Linked DNA regions of Homo sapiens: region 1 is linked to region 2. The links are contacts of gene promoters, found by promoter capture Hi-C in human tissues and cell types (Jung and others, 2019). All regions are on one chromosome and are shown on one strand. The core of a region is centred on a gene start or on the middle of the fragment in contact, and the rest is flanking DNA. Distances in the headings are between cores, read along the strand shown. Region 1 overlaps ARHGEF18 (Rho/Rac guanine nucleotide exchange factor 18). Region 2 holds the start of LRRC8E (leucine rich repeat containing 8 VRAC subunit E).

The links. The method cuts DNA at HindIII sites, captures the fragments that hold promoters and counts their contacts. A contact is called where the count stands out against the background at its distance.
Region 1: a contact is called between a fragment that was not itself captured here and the fragment with the promoter of LRRC8E in region 2, in 2 of the 25 tissues and cell types used here (dorsolateral prefrontal cortex and lymphoblastoid cells).

Annotation. Positions count from the first base shown.
Region 1 is chr19:7,359,116-7,364,973 of GRCh38, reverse strand. It overlaps ARHGEF18 (Rho/Rac guanine nucleotide exchange factor 18), which reads right to left. Exons shown (of 29, transcript NM_001367823.1): 2 at 2,069-2,193. The coding sequence starts at 2,083. Among named protein-coding and RNA genes, the nearest start is that of ARHGEF18, 13 kb to the right of the region's middle. The HindIII fragment of the contact is 4,406 bases long and covers 214-4,619 here.
Region 2 is chr19:7,886,632-7,893,209 of GRCh38, reverse strand. LRRC8E (leucine rich repeat containing 8 VRAC subunit E) reads right to left here and starts at 4,700. Exons shown (of 3, transcript NM_025061.6): 1 at 4,610-4,700. It also overlaps the pseudogene RNA5SP463. RefSeq lists enhancers at 2,855-3,355, 4,245-4,943 and a silencer at 4,692-4,821. The HindIII fragment of the contact is 6,573 bases long and covers 1-5,676 here.

The sequences.
Region 1 (5,858 bases), core at 1,167-3,666, 530 kb after region 2:
GTCAGTTCTCAGCCCCCTTCCTGGGCAGCCCATCAGCAATGGGTGATTGACAAGGGGATATAAAAGCTTGCCCATTTCAGCCCAACTCCGTCTGAGTCTGCTTCCTGGAGACCCAACACACACCACCTGACTGTCTTGGTCCCTGGTGGAGCTGGAGCTGAACTATGTTTACGAGACCTCTCCCTGGCCCCTACCCTCTTAAGGATGCACCTCCTAGATGCCACATCTTCCACCCCAGGAGACCTTCCCTGAAGCAGCCTGGAGGCTGTCACCAGGACCTTTGCCACGACCTCAGTCCCAGCCACACACCATCAGGACTTGATGTTAACTGTGCCCCAACTCCACCCAGGGACCACAAGCTTTCAGGGTCTTTCTTTTGAGACTGGAGCCTGGGGGCTGGCCTACCCCACAGGCCCCTGACATAAGCGCTTAGAGAAAGTGTGATGAGAGCAGAGGGTATGGACGCAGGCTGCAGAGTCAGAATGGGCTTGAATCCCAACTCTGCCATGACGGGAACTTAGGCAAGTCAGTCTACCTTTCTAGGCTGTATTTGGTTTTAGTCAGCCTGCCTTCCTTCCTTCCTTCCTTCCTTCCTTCCTTCCTTCCTTTCCTTCCCTCCTTCCTTCCTTTCTTCCTCTCATCCTTCTTCTCATCTATCCATTACCCCTCCATTATCCGTCCATCCTTCCTTCATCCTTTCATTTATCCATCCTCCTTCCTTCCATCAACCCATCCATCCATCTTCCTTACTTCCTTCCTTCTTTCCTTCCTTCCACTCACCCGTCTTCTCATCTATCCATTCACCCATCCGTTATCCATCCATCCTTCCTTTATTCTTTTATTTATCCATCTTCCTTCCTTCCACTCACTCTTCTTCTCATCCATCCATTCATCCATCCATTACCCATCCATCTTTCCTTCATTCATTCATTTATCCATCCTCCTTCCTTTCATCCACCCATCTTCCTTCCTTCCTTCCTCTCACCCTTCTACTCATCCATCCATTCACCCACCCATTATTTATCTATCCTTCCTTCATTCTTTTATTTATCCATCCTCCTTCCTTCCATCAACCCATCCATCCATCCCCCTTCCTTCCTTTCTTCCTTTTTTCCTTCCTTTTCACTCACCCTTCTTCTCATCCATCCATTCACCCACCCATTATCCATCCATCCTTCCTTCATTCTTTCATTTATCCATCCTCCTTCCTTTCATCAATCTAGCCATCTTCCTTCCTTTCACCCATCCATCTTTCTTCCTTCCTTCCTTCCACTCACATTTCTTCTCATCCATCCACTCACCCATCCATTATCCATCCATCCTTCCTTCATTCTTTCATTTATCCATCCTCTTTCCTTTCATCCATCCATCTTCCTTCCTTCCATCTTTCATTTTATTCATCAATCATTCATGTATCCATCCACCCACATTTCTCATCTTTCTTCCTTCCTTCCATTCACCCACCTTTCTACTCTTTCATTCATCAACCATCTCTCCTTCCTTCCTTTAATCCACCCATCCTTCTACCTATCCATCCATACTTCCTTCTTTCCTTCCTTCCTTCATCCATCCTCCTTCCTTCCATCAGTCCATCCATCTATCCATCTAGCTTTCTTCTTTTTATTCACCCATCATCCATTTATCCATTCACCCACACTTCTACCCATCTTTCCTCCCTTCCTTCTAGTCATCCGTCATCCATTCATCCACCCAGCCACCCTTCTATTCATCCACGTATCCATCCATCCATCCATCCTTCTACTCATCTTTCCTTGATTTCCTCTTTCCTTCCATCTATCCATCCATCTATCCAGACACCCACCCACCCATCCATCTATCCATCCATCCATTCATCCCTCCATTGCTCCTTTCCTCCCTCTTCTTATTTCAGAACAGATTCTGGTTTCCTCATAGGTAAAACAGGATAATAAATGACTTTGCAAGTTTCGATGAGGATTCCCTGAGATAATGTACACAAAGTGCCTGGTAAAATGCAGGTGCTAAACAAAGTGTACTTGCTGCCACTGTCGTCATCAGCTCCTGCCCGTTTCAGCAGTCAGACACCTGCCTGATCATCCCCCATGGCAGAGAAGAAGTCTGGGTTCTCAGGTTTCCAGGATCCACTGCTGCTCTTGGTGGCTGAAGCCACAGCTCCAGAGTCAAAAGGCTGGACACATGACTTGGGCTCAGAGCCTGTGGAGAAAGGAGGGACAAGGTGTCAGGGATAAGCTGGGAGTGCTGAGGAAGCCAGGACCTGGATTCTGCATCTGTTGCTGGTCACCCTGGACCTCAGTTTTCTCAACTATAAAATGAGTTGGTGAGGGGAGGGGGAAGATGGTCTCAATGATCTTGAAGCCAACATACGTGTCACCTCTTCCCCATCCCAAGCCTATGGCAGACATTGCTAGTCAATCATGAGTCAATTTCCTGCTTAGCCATTTGCCCCCTCAGGATTCTTCCCAACACACCAGTTCCAACAGCCATCACCAGGTGATCCAAGTTGGCTTATGTATGAAATCAATTTGTTATGCCTGCTCTAGGAAAAAGCCCTCAGTTGATCAATGATGCTAATGGTCCCGTAGACCAAATGCAAGTACCCAATGCCCACATTGTTTTTCCTCCTCCTCCTCTTCCTCCTCCTCCTCCACCTTCTTCCTTCTTCTTCCTCCTTCTCCTTCTTCCTCCTCCTCTTCTTCTCCTTCCTTCTTCCTTTCTTCTTCCTCTTCCTCTTCTTGTCTTCTTCTTCCTCTTCTTCCTCTTCTTTTCTCCTTCTTCTTCTCCTTCTTCTCCTTCTTCTCCTTCTTCTCCTTCTTCTCCTCCTTCTCCTTCTCCTTCTCCTTCTCCTTCTCCTTCTCCTTCTCCTTCTCCTTCTCCTTCTCCTTCTCCTTCTCCTTCTCCTTCTCCTTCTCCTTCTCCTTCTCCTTCTCCTTCTCCTTCTCCTTCTCCTTCTCCTTCTCCTTCTTCTTCTTCTTCTTCTTCTTCCACAGAGTCTTGCTCTGTTGCCCCCAAGCTGGAGTGCAGTGGCGTGATCTCAGCTCACCACAACCTCCGCCTCCCGAGTTCAAGCCATTCTCCTGCCTCAGCCTCCTGAGTAGCTGGGATTACAGGTGCACACCACTGCACCTGGCTAATTTTGTGTGATTAATAGAGTTGGGGTTTCACCATGTTGGCCAGGCTAGTCTAGAACTCCTGACCTCAGGTGATCTGCATGCCTCAGCCTCCCAAAGTGTAGGGATTACAGGTGTGAGCCACGGTGCCCGGCCAGTGCTTTATTTGTTTTAGGGCTGAATAATATTCAATTGCATGGAGATACCACATTTCGTGTATCCATTGATCTGTTGATGGACATTTGGGTCGTTTTCACCATTTGGTTATTTCAAATCACGCTGCCATGAACAATTGCATACAGATGTACGCAATTGCACGGATGTGTGTTTTCCATTGTCTTGGGTCGTTACCTAGGAAGGGAATTGCTGGAGTACATGCTAATCTATGCTTAGCTTTTTGAGGAACCGCTGTTATGCAGTCTCTTTTTTGAGATAGAGCCTCACTCTGTTGCCCAGGCTGGAGTGCAGTGGCGCCATCTTGGCTCACTGCAACCTCCACCTCCGGGATTTGAGTGATTCTCCTGCCTCAGCCTGTTGAGTAGCTGGGATTACACGTATGCACCACCACACCTGGCTAATTTTTTTTATTTTTAGTAGAGACGGGGGTCTTGCTACGTTGGCCAGGCTGGTCCGGAACTCCTGAGCTCAGGCAATCCCCCCGCCTTGGCCTCCCAAAGTGCTGGGATTACAGGCATGAGCCATTGCACCTGGCCTAAAACCACTGAATTGTATGCTTTAAATGGGTGAAGTATATGGTAGCTCAATAAAGCTGTTCCTAAAAAGTTTTTTGTTGGAGCCTCTTGCAGAGCTTTGGATGGGGCAGGTACACATGGGGCCTGAAGCTTCAGTTTCCATTGCTTCAAGGTAAATTTGCCCCCTGATGCCACCTGTATTCACAGATGAGTGGCTGGACAGTAACGAGCAATGCCAGGGTTTCCACCATCACTGCTTTCCAGGTTGCCCTCCCGGGCTGGTTGGAGGGACTCTGTTCAGCTGCTGTTGTTAAGCTTTGCATCTGTTCTCTTCCCCACCCAGAAGCCGAAGCAGCATCTATGACTCACAGAAACGAAACAAGCAGGCTGTGAAGGAGGAGGAAAGCCAGATGTGGGGGAGGGTCCTGGAGGTTGGTGGGAGCTTGGGAGGGGAAAGGCAGTCCCATTCCTCAGCCAAGTCCCCTTAGGGCTGGAGGAGAGCCTGCAGGGTTGGCTTGCTTCACTGGACAGGGTCCTTGTGGAGGCCTGAGGCCTCCTGTAGCCTGCAGGACCTCATGCCCTGTATCTGTGAACCCTGAAGGTCTGGGATCCAAAGATCAAAGGTGAAAGGCCAGGGTTGGCCGGGCCCAGTGGCTCACACATGTAATCCCAGCACTTTGGGAGGCCGAGGAAGGCGGATCACTTGAGGTGAGGAGTTTGAGACCAGCCTGACCAACATGGCGAAACCTAGTCTCTACTGAAAATACAAACATTAGCTGGGCATGGTGGCATGTGCTTATAATTCCAGCTACTAGGGAGGCTGACACATGGGAATCTCTTCAGCCAGGGAAGGGCAGGATGCAGTGAACTGAGATTGTGCCATTGCACTCCAGCCTGGGTGACAGAGTGAGACTCTGTCTCAAAGAAAAAAAAAAAGGAAAAGAATGAAAAAAGAAAAGAAAAGAAATGCCAGGGTTGTGTGATTGTGCATGTTTTGTTGTTGTTGTTGTTGTTGTTGTTTTGTTTCAAGAGAGTCTTGCTCTGTCACCCAGGCTGGAGTGGTTCCATCTTGGCTCACTGCAGTCTCCACCTCCTGGGTACAAGCGATTCTCCTGTCTCAGACTTCTGAGTAGCTGGGACCACCGATGTGTACCACCATGTCCAGCTAATTTTTGCATTTTTAGTTGAAATGGGGTTTCACCATGTTGGCTAGGCTAGTCTCGAACTCCTGGTCTCATATGATCCTCCCACCTCGGCCTCCCAAAGTGCTGGGATTACAGGCATGAGCCACTGTGCCTGGCTGAGTTTTGTTTTTATAGGGAAGCTTCTGACCGAGGAACAGGTTGAGCTTGACCTGATGATGAACTCAACTGTGATCCTAGTTCCCAATGACTGACTCAACTCTGATCCTAGTTTTACAGATTGAACTCCAATCTTTGTGTCACAGACTGAGCCATGATCCTGGTGTCATATACTGAGCCTTGATCCTGATATCACAGACTGAACTTCATCTGGCTGTCATTGGTTGAGCATTCATTCTTGTATCATAGAATGAACCCCCCTCCTAGTGTCATAGACTAAGCCTTTATCCTGGTGTCATATATTGATCCCTGATCCTAGTGTCATAGGCTAAGCCCTAATCCTGGTGTCATAGTCTTAGCTCTTATCCTGGTATCATAGACTGAGCCCCAATCCTGGTGTCATAGACTGAATCTTGATCTGGCATCATAGACTGAGCTCCAATCCTGATGTCATAGGCTGTGTCCTGATTCCAATATTATGAGCTAAGCCCTAATCCCAGTGTCATAGACTGAGCTCTGTCAATTACCAACCACAATTGCCCCAAACGATTGCCAATCACATTTGTCACTGATCCTCAGCTACCAGTCTCTCCCCTGTAGTCCATCTTCTGTCCTGGAGTTGGTGTGTCCTTTTGATATAACCCTCTGATGGTCACTCCCCTTCTACTGATCCCCACCCCTATAGACTCCAGTCCCCTTAGAATGACATTCAGAGCCCTCCTCAGCCTGTCCTCTTACCTCCCTGTCACACACATGCA
Region 2 (6,578 bases), core at 3,451-5,950:
GTGATGAAACCCCGTCTCTACTAAAAATACAAAAAATTAGCTGGGCGTGGTGGCAGGTGCCTGTAATCCCAGCTACTAGGGAGGCTGAGGCAGGAGGATCGCTTGAACCTGGGAGGCAGAGGTTGCAGTGAGCTGAGATTGCGCCACTGCACTCTAGCCCAGACAATAGTGCAAGACTCTGTCTCAAAACTAAAACAAAATAAAAATAAAAATACAAAACAGCCAGTCATGGTGGAGGGTGCCTGTAGTCCCGGTTACTCGGGAGGCTGAGGCACGAAAACCCCTTGAACCCGGGAGGCGGAGGTTGCAGTCAGCCAAGATTGCACTACTGCATTCCAGCCTGGGCGACAGAGCAAGACCCTGTCTCTAAAAAAGAGAAGAGAAGAGAAAAGAAACCCGACTACAAATATCCCAGTCTGCCTGGGTCACCAGTATGTAATCTGGTAGAAACATACCAGGATAGCTCAACTGTCCCCAGGGGAAGAATATGTACATTGCACCCACCAAAATGGACGCTTGGGGTCATTTTGGGTCATGCATATTTGTGCACGAGGGTATAAAGTCCAAGTACACACACTGAGCTTCGGAGGGACCCAGCACCAGGGACCCTCACGTCCTGTTTTGGTTCCGGCCATCCATTGAGTCCTCCAAGGATCCTGCAGGGACACTGCTCAGTTGCTTTACCTAAGAATGCTGACCCCAGGCTGGGTGCAGTGGCTCAGGCCTGTAATTCCAGCACTTTGGGAGGCTGAGGCAGGAGGATTGCTTGAGCCCAGGAGTTTGAGCAGCCAGGACAACATAGTCAGACCCCATTTCTACAAAAAAATCTAAAAATTTGGGCCGGGTGCGGTGGCTCACGCCTGTAATCCCAGCACTTTGGGAGGCCGAGGTGGGTGGATCACGAGGTCAGGAGATTGAGACCATCCTGGCTAATGCGGCGAAACCCCGTCTCTACTAAAAATACAAAAAATTAGCCGGGCATAGTGGCAGACGCCTGTAGTCCCAGCTACTTGGGAGGCTGAGGCAGGAGAATGGCGTGAACCTGGGAGGCAGAGCCTGCAGTGAGCCAAGATTGCACAACTGTACTCCAGCCTGGGCGACAGAGCGAGACTCCGTCTCAAAAAAAAAAAAAAAATCTAAAATCTTGCCAGGTGTGGTGGTGCATGCCTGTAGTCCCAGCTACTTGGAAGACTGAGGTGGGAGGATTGCTTGAACCCAGGAGTTAGAGGCTGCAGTGAGCCATGAACCAGCCTGGGCAAGACCCTATCTCAAACACAGCAAGCAAAACACTACTGACTGGGGCCGGGCGCGGTGGCTCTCGCCTGTAATCCCAGCACTTTGGGAGGCCAAGGTAGGCGGATAATTTGAGGTCAGGAGTTCCAGACCAGCCTGGCCAACATGGTGAAACCTCGTCTCTACTAAAAATACAAAAACAATTAGCCAGGCATGGTGGTGGATGCCTGTAATCCCAGCTACTCAGGAGAGTGAGGCAGGAGAATTGCTTAAACTCGGGAGACAGAAGCTGCAGTGAGCCAAGATCTCGCCACTGCACTCCAGCCTGGGCGACAGAGCGAGACTCCGTCTCAAAAAAACAAAACAAAACAAAAACTCCTGACTCTGGAGGCTGCAGAAGAAATCACACAACACACACACACACACACAAACACACACACACACACACACACCCGAGCAGGGACCAACTTCCTGTCCTTGCCACCCTGGTGTAAGCTCCACCAATAGCCATCCCAGGTGCACAATCGCAGACAAGAAGGCAGCAACACTCAGGGGACCGGGGGGCAGCCACAGGGGCTATCATTATCTGTCTCCATGACTCAAACTTGATCCTCACAAACCTGCCATTAAATTTCCACAGACATAAAATAGGCCCCCACTTTGTCTGAGCAGGGCTGGTGGGAAGGTCCAGGAACAGGGGCTCGAAGAATTGGGGCAGAGCCAGGGAAAATAAAACGATGGGACGTATACGCTCAGCTTTCTCCACCAGACACTGAATGCCTCATTTTATCCCAACCCAGGCAGCGTGGATGTCGGAGACTTTGCTTTCCAGACTCAGGGGAGAGAAATAACTTGCTCAAGCTTCTACAGTTCCAAGCGGCATTCGAAGCCTGACCCATCCAACCTCCAGGTCCTGCCTGTAGGATTGCAACTGCTCTGTTCCCTCTTGGGAGACAGCCTCTAATTAAAATGCAGCATCTTGCCAGGCACGGTGGCTCACGCCTGTAATCCCAACACTTTGGGAGGCCAAGGTAGGCAGATCATTTGAGGTCAGGAGTTTGAGACCAGGCTAGCCCAACATGGTAAAACCCCATGTCTACTAAAAATACAAAATTAGCTGGAGTGGTGGTGGGCACCTATAATCCCAGCTAATGGGGAAGCTGAAGCAGGAGAATCTCTTTTTTTTTTGAGACAGAGTCTCACTCTGTCGCCCAGGCTGGAGTGCAGTGGTGTGATCTCGGCTCACTGCAAGCTCCGCCTCCCGGGTTCACACCATTCTCCTGCTTCAGCCTCCCGAGTAGCTGGGACTACAGGCGCCCGCCACCTCGCCCGGCTAATTTTTTGTAATTTTAGTAGAGACGGGGTTTCACTGTATTAGCCAGGATGGTCTCAATCTCCTGATCTCATGATCTGCCTGCCTCGGCCTCCCAAAGAGCTGGGATTACAGGCGTGCGCCACCGTGCCCGGCTGAAGCAGGAGAATCTCTTGAACCCAGGAGGTGGAAGTTGCAGTGAGCCGTGATTGCGCCACTGCAATCCAGCCTGGGCAACAGAGCAAGACTCTATCTCAAAAAACAAACAACAACAAAAAAACCACAGCATCTTTGCCAAAAGCACCTAAGAGCGGTGTTGCATTGTGGCAGGCCAGGCTGGAAGGCTTTCCAGCCTGAGACCATGTGGCTCCCACCAGCCCTGGCTCCATCCACCCATGCCTCACCCCTCCTCCCTCCCAGGTCCTCCTCAAGCCACTTGCCTCCAAAAAATGTGGTGATGAGTTCCTGCTGGGGGAAGGGTGGGAGAGTGAGACCCTCCACACCCACAGCCCATGCTAAGAGGCAGGGAAGAAGCAAGAAACATCCAGCAGTTTTCAGCCCTAAGAGGGGTTTTGTAGAAAACAAGGCCCAACCTTTTTTTTTTTTTAGACATAGAGTCCTGACGGACACAGTGGATCACGCCTGTAATCCCAGCACTTTGAGAGGTTGAGGCAGGTGGATCACGAGGTCAAGAGATCAAGACCATCCTGGCCAACATGATGAAACCCCATCTCTAAAAATACAAAGATTAGCTGGGTATGGTGCCACATGCTTGTAGTCCCAGCTACTCAGGAGGCTGAGGCAGGAGAATCGCTTGAACCTGGGAGGTGGAGGTTGCCGTGAGCCAAGATCGTGCCACTGCGCTCCGGCCTGGCAACAGAGCAAGACTCTATCTTGAAAAAAAAAAAAAGAGAGAGAGAGAGAGATAGAGTCTTGCTCTGTCACCCAGGCTGGAGTTCAGTGGCACGATCATAGCTCATAGTAGTCTCGAACTCCTGGGCTCAAGTGATCCTCCTGCCTCAGCCTCCCCAGTAGCTGGGACCACAGGTGCGTGCTACCATGCCCAGCCAACTTTTAGATTTTTTGTAGAGATGGAGTCTCGCTATGTTGCCCAGGCTGGTCTTGAACTTCTGAGTCCAAGCAATCCTCCCACCTCAGCCTCCCAAAGTGCTGGGATTACAGGTGTGAGCCACTGTGCCTGGCCTCAATCTTTTTTTTTTTTTGAGATGGAGTGTCGCTCTGTTGCCCAGGCTGGAGTGCAGTGGCCCAATCTCAACTCACTGCAACCTCCACCTCTTGGGTCCGAGCAGTACTCAAGCCTCAGCCTCCCCAGTAGCTGGGACTACAGGGACACGCCACTAATTTTTGTATTTTTAGTAGAGATGGGGTTTCACCGTGTTAGCCAGGCTGGTCTCAAACACCTGACCTCAGGTGACCTGCCCACCTCGGCCTCCCAAAGTGCTGGGATTATAGACGTAAGGCACGGTGTCCGGCTGAGCCTCAACCATTTATGCAAGGGAGAAACTGAGGGTCTAGGGTGGGGGAGGGTGGCATCTTTGTAGCCCGTCCTGGGTCAGGCCCCAGGCCTGCGGATTCCCAGCCGAGTGGTTTTCCAAGCCGCCTCTGCCAGCAGACTTGAAGATCTGGGACATGTGTAAGTTCAAGAGCACCAGAGGTCAGGCTTGGTTGAACCCACCCCAAGTGGTAGGTTCTGGAGCTCTGAGAGTCTCCCGGGGATGAGTTGTCAATGTCTTCCCAGATGCCAAGGGGAGGGGAAAGTGGTTGAGACCCCCAAAGTCAAGTTTATCTTCAGCCTGTTTATCTTCACTCTGAGACTTGGCCGCGTCTGCCTGGCTCCCAGGACGGGCACCTCGTGGGCCAGGTTTCCCTTTGCACCGGCCGGCACCCCCACCCCAGCTCCTGGTGTGTCGGGACGGCCTGCCCCGGCCACAGGGCCGGCGCACCTGGAGCGGCTCTGCCCCTTGTCCAGACCCGGGGACTCCCAGCCCGACCCCCACCCTGCCACCTCGTGGGGTGTCCAGAGGCAAAGAGCCACCTACTCACCGTTCCGGGAGGGACGCTGGGCCCAACTCCTGGGTCTCTGGGAGCGGAGCTGCCGCGACTCCCGCAGAGTTCCCGGGCGGGCCGCGAGGGTGAGTCAGGGCAGGCGGGGACAGGAGACCCGGAGCCGCCCCGCCCCGCCCCCGGACGACTCGGCCCCGCCTCGCCGCAGGCGCGCCCAGGTCGACCCTACTCCAGGCGCCGCGCGATCAGCAGGGTTGGGGGAAGACAGCCGTCTTAGGCTGCTTTGCCCTGGTGGGCTCGGGGCTGGCGGGAGATGCAGGGGTCTTAGAACTTTGCAACTTTGCAGTCTGGCTGGACCCTGGCAGCTGGGGAAACTGAGGGAGCTGGGGACGCTGAACTCCCAAAGCCATTCTACGGCCACCTTTCTGGGAACCAGGTCTTACGGACCCTGTCGAGAAAATGTGGAGGCCGGGCTCTGTGACTCACGCCTGTAATCCAACACTTTGGGAGGCCGAGGCAGGAGGATACCTTGGGCCTAGGAGTTTGAAACCAGCCTGAGCAATATAGTGGGACCACATCTCTACAAAAAATTTTAAAACCTACAAAAACAAAATTTTAAAAATTAGCCAGGTGTGGTGGTGTGTGCCTGTAGTCCCAGCTACTCTGGAGGCCGAGGTGGAAGGATCACCTGAATCTGGGAAGTTGAGAGGCTGCAGCGAGCTACGATCATGCCACTGCACTCCAGCCTGGGCCACCAAGAAGGACCCTGTCTCCAAAAGAAAAAAAAGAAAAAGAGGAAGTGCGGAAGGGCTCCTTCTAACCCCGCAAGGCCCAGTCACCTGGCCTTAAAGCCCAGCCAAGGCACAGGTGACTGCAGTTTTCAGGTGCTGGGAGTGGAGTTGCGGGAGGAGAGGACGGGGAGGGGACGGCTTCTCCCTTCAAGCTCTGGCCATGGGCGGGAACTGGGCTGAACCAACGGAAGTTGAGTAGAGTGGGGATGCCCTCCTGTCTGTCCCTGCCCAACACTGTGGTCTGCCCTCCAGGTGGGGAGTGGGGCACAAGCAGCTCCGAAGTCCTGGGGGGCCCAGCTTCTCTGCCTCCCCACCCCCACCCTGGCCGCCCCACTTGGGAGGCCTGAGCTGGGTCTTAGATGAGCAAATCTGTGGAGGTGGACCTTGATCTGTTCTCCGTCTGAAAAACCTTGGAGGCCGGGTGCAGTGGCTCACGCCTGTAATCCCAGCTCTTTGGGAGGCTGAGGCGGGTGGATCACGAGGTCAGGAGATCGAGACCATCGTGGCTAACACAGTGAAACACAGTCTCTACAAAAATACAAAAAAATTAGCAGGGCGTGGTGGCGGGCGCCTGTAGTCCCAGCTACTCAGGAGGCTGAGGCAGGAGAATGGCGTGAACCCAGGAGGCAGAGCTTGCAGTGAGCCGAGATTGCGCCACTGCACTCCAGCCTGGGCGAAGAGTGAGACTCCATCTCAAAAAAAAAAAAAAAAAAAAAGATAAAAAAAGAAAAGAAAAGAAAAACCTTGGATGTATCTATGGCCATACCACCCTAAAAGCATCTGATCCTCGTCTCACCTCGCAAGCTAAGCAGTGTCGGACCTGGTTAGTACTTGGATGGGAGACCACCTAGGAATACCGGGTGCTGTAGGCTTGGGCTGGTCACAGTGGCTTACACCTGTAATCTAGCACTTTCGGAGGCTGAGGAGGGTGGATCACCTGAGGTCAGGCGTTTGAGACCAGCCTGGCCAACATGGTGAAACCCTGTCTCTACTAAAAATACAAAAATTAGCTGGGTGTGGTGGCTTGTGCTACTTGGGAGGCTGAGACAAGAGAATCGCTTGAGCCTGGGAGGTGGAGGTTACAGTGAACTGAGATTGCACCACCCCACTCCAGCCTGGGCGACAGAACAGGATTCCATCTCAAAACAAAACAAAACAAAACCAAACCATCCATGGAAATGTTCCTACCTGGACTTAGGATGGGAGACGGAGAGTTC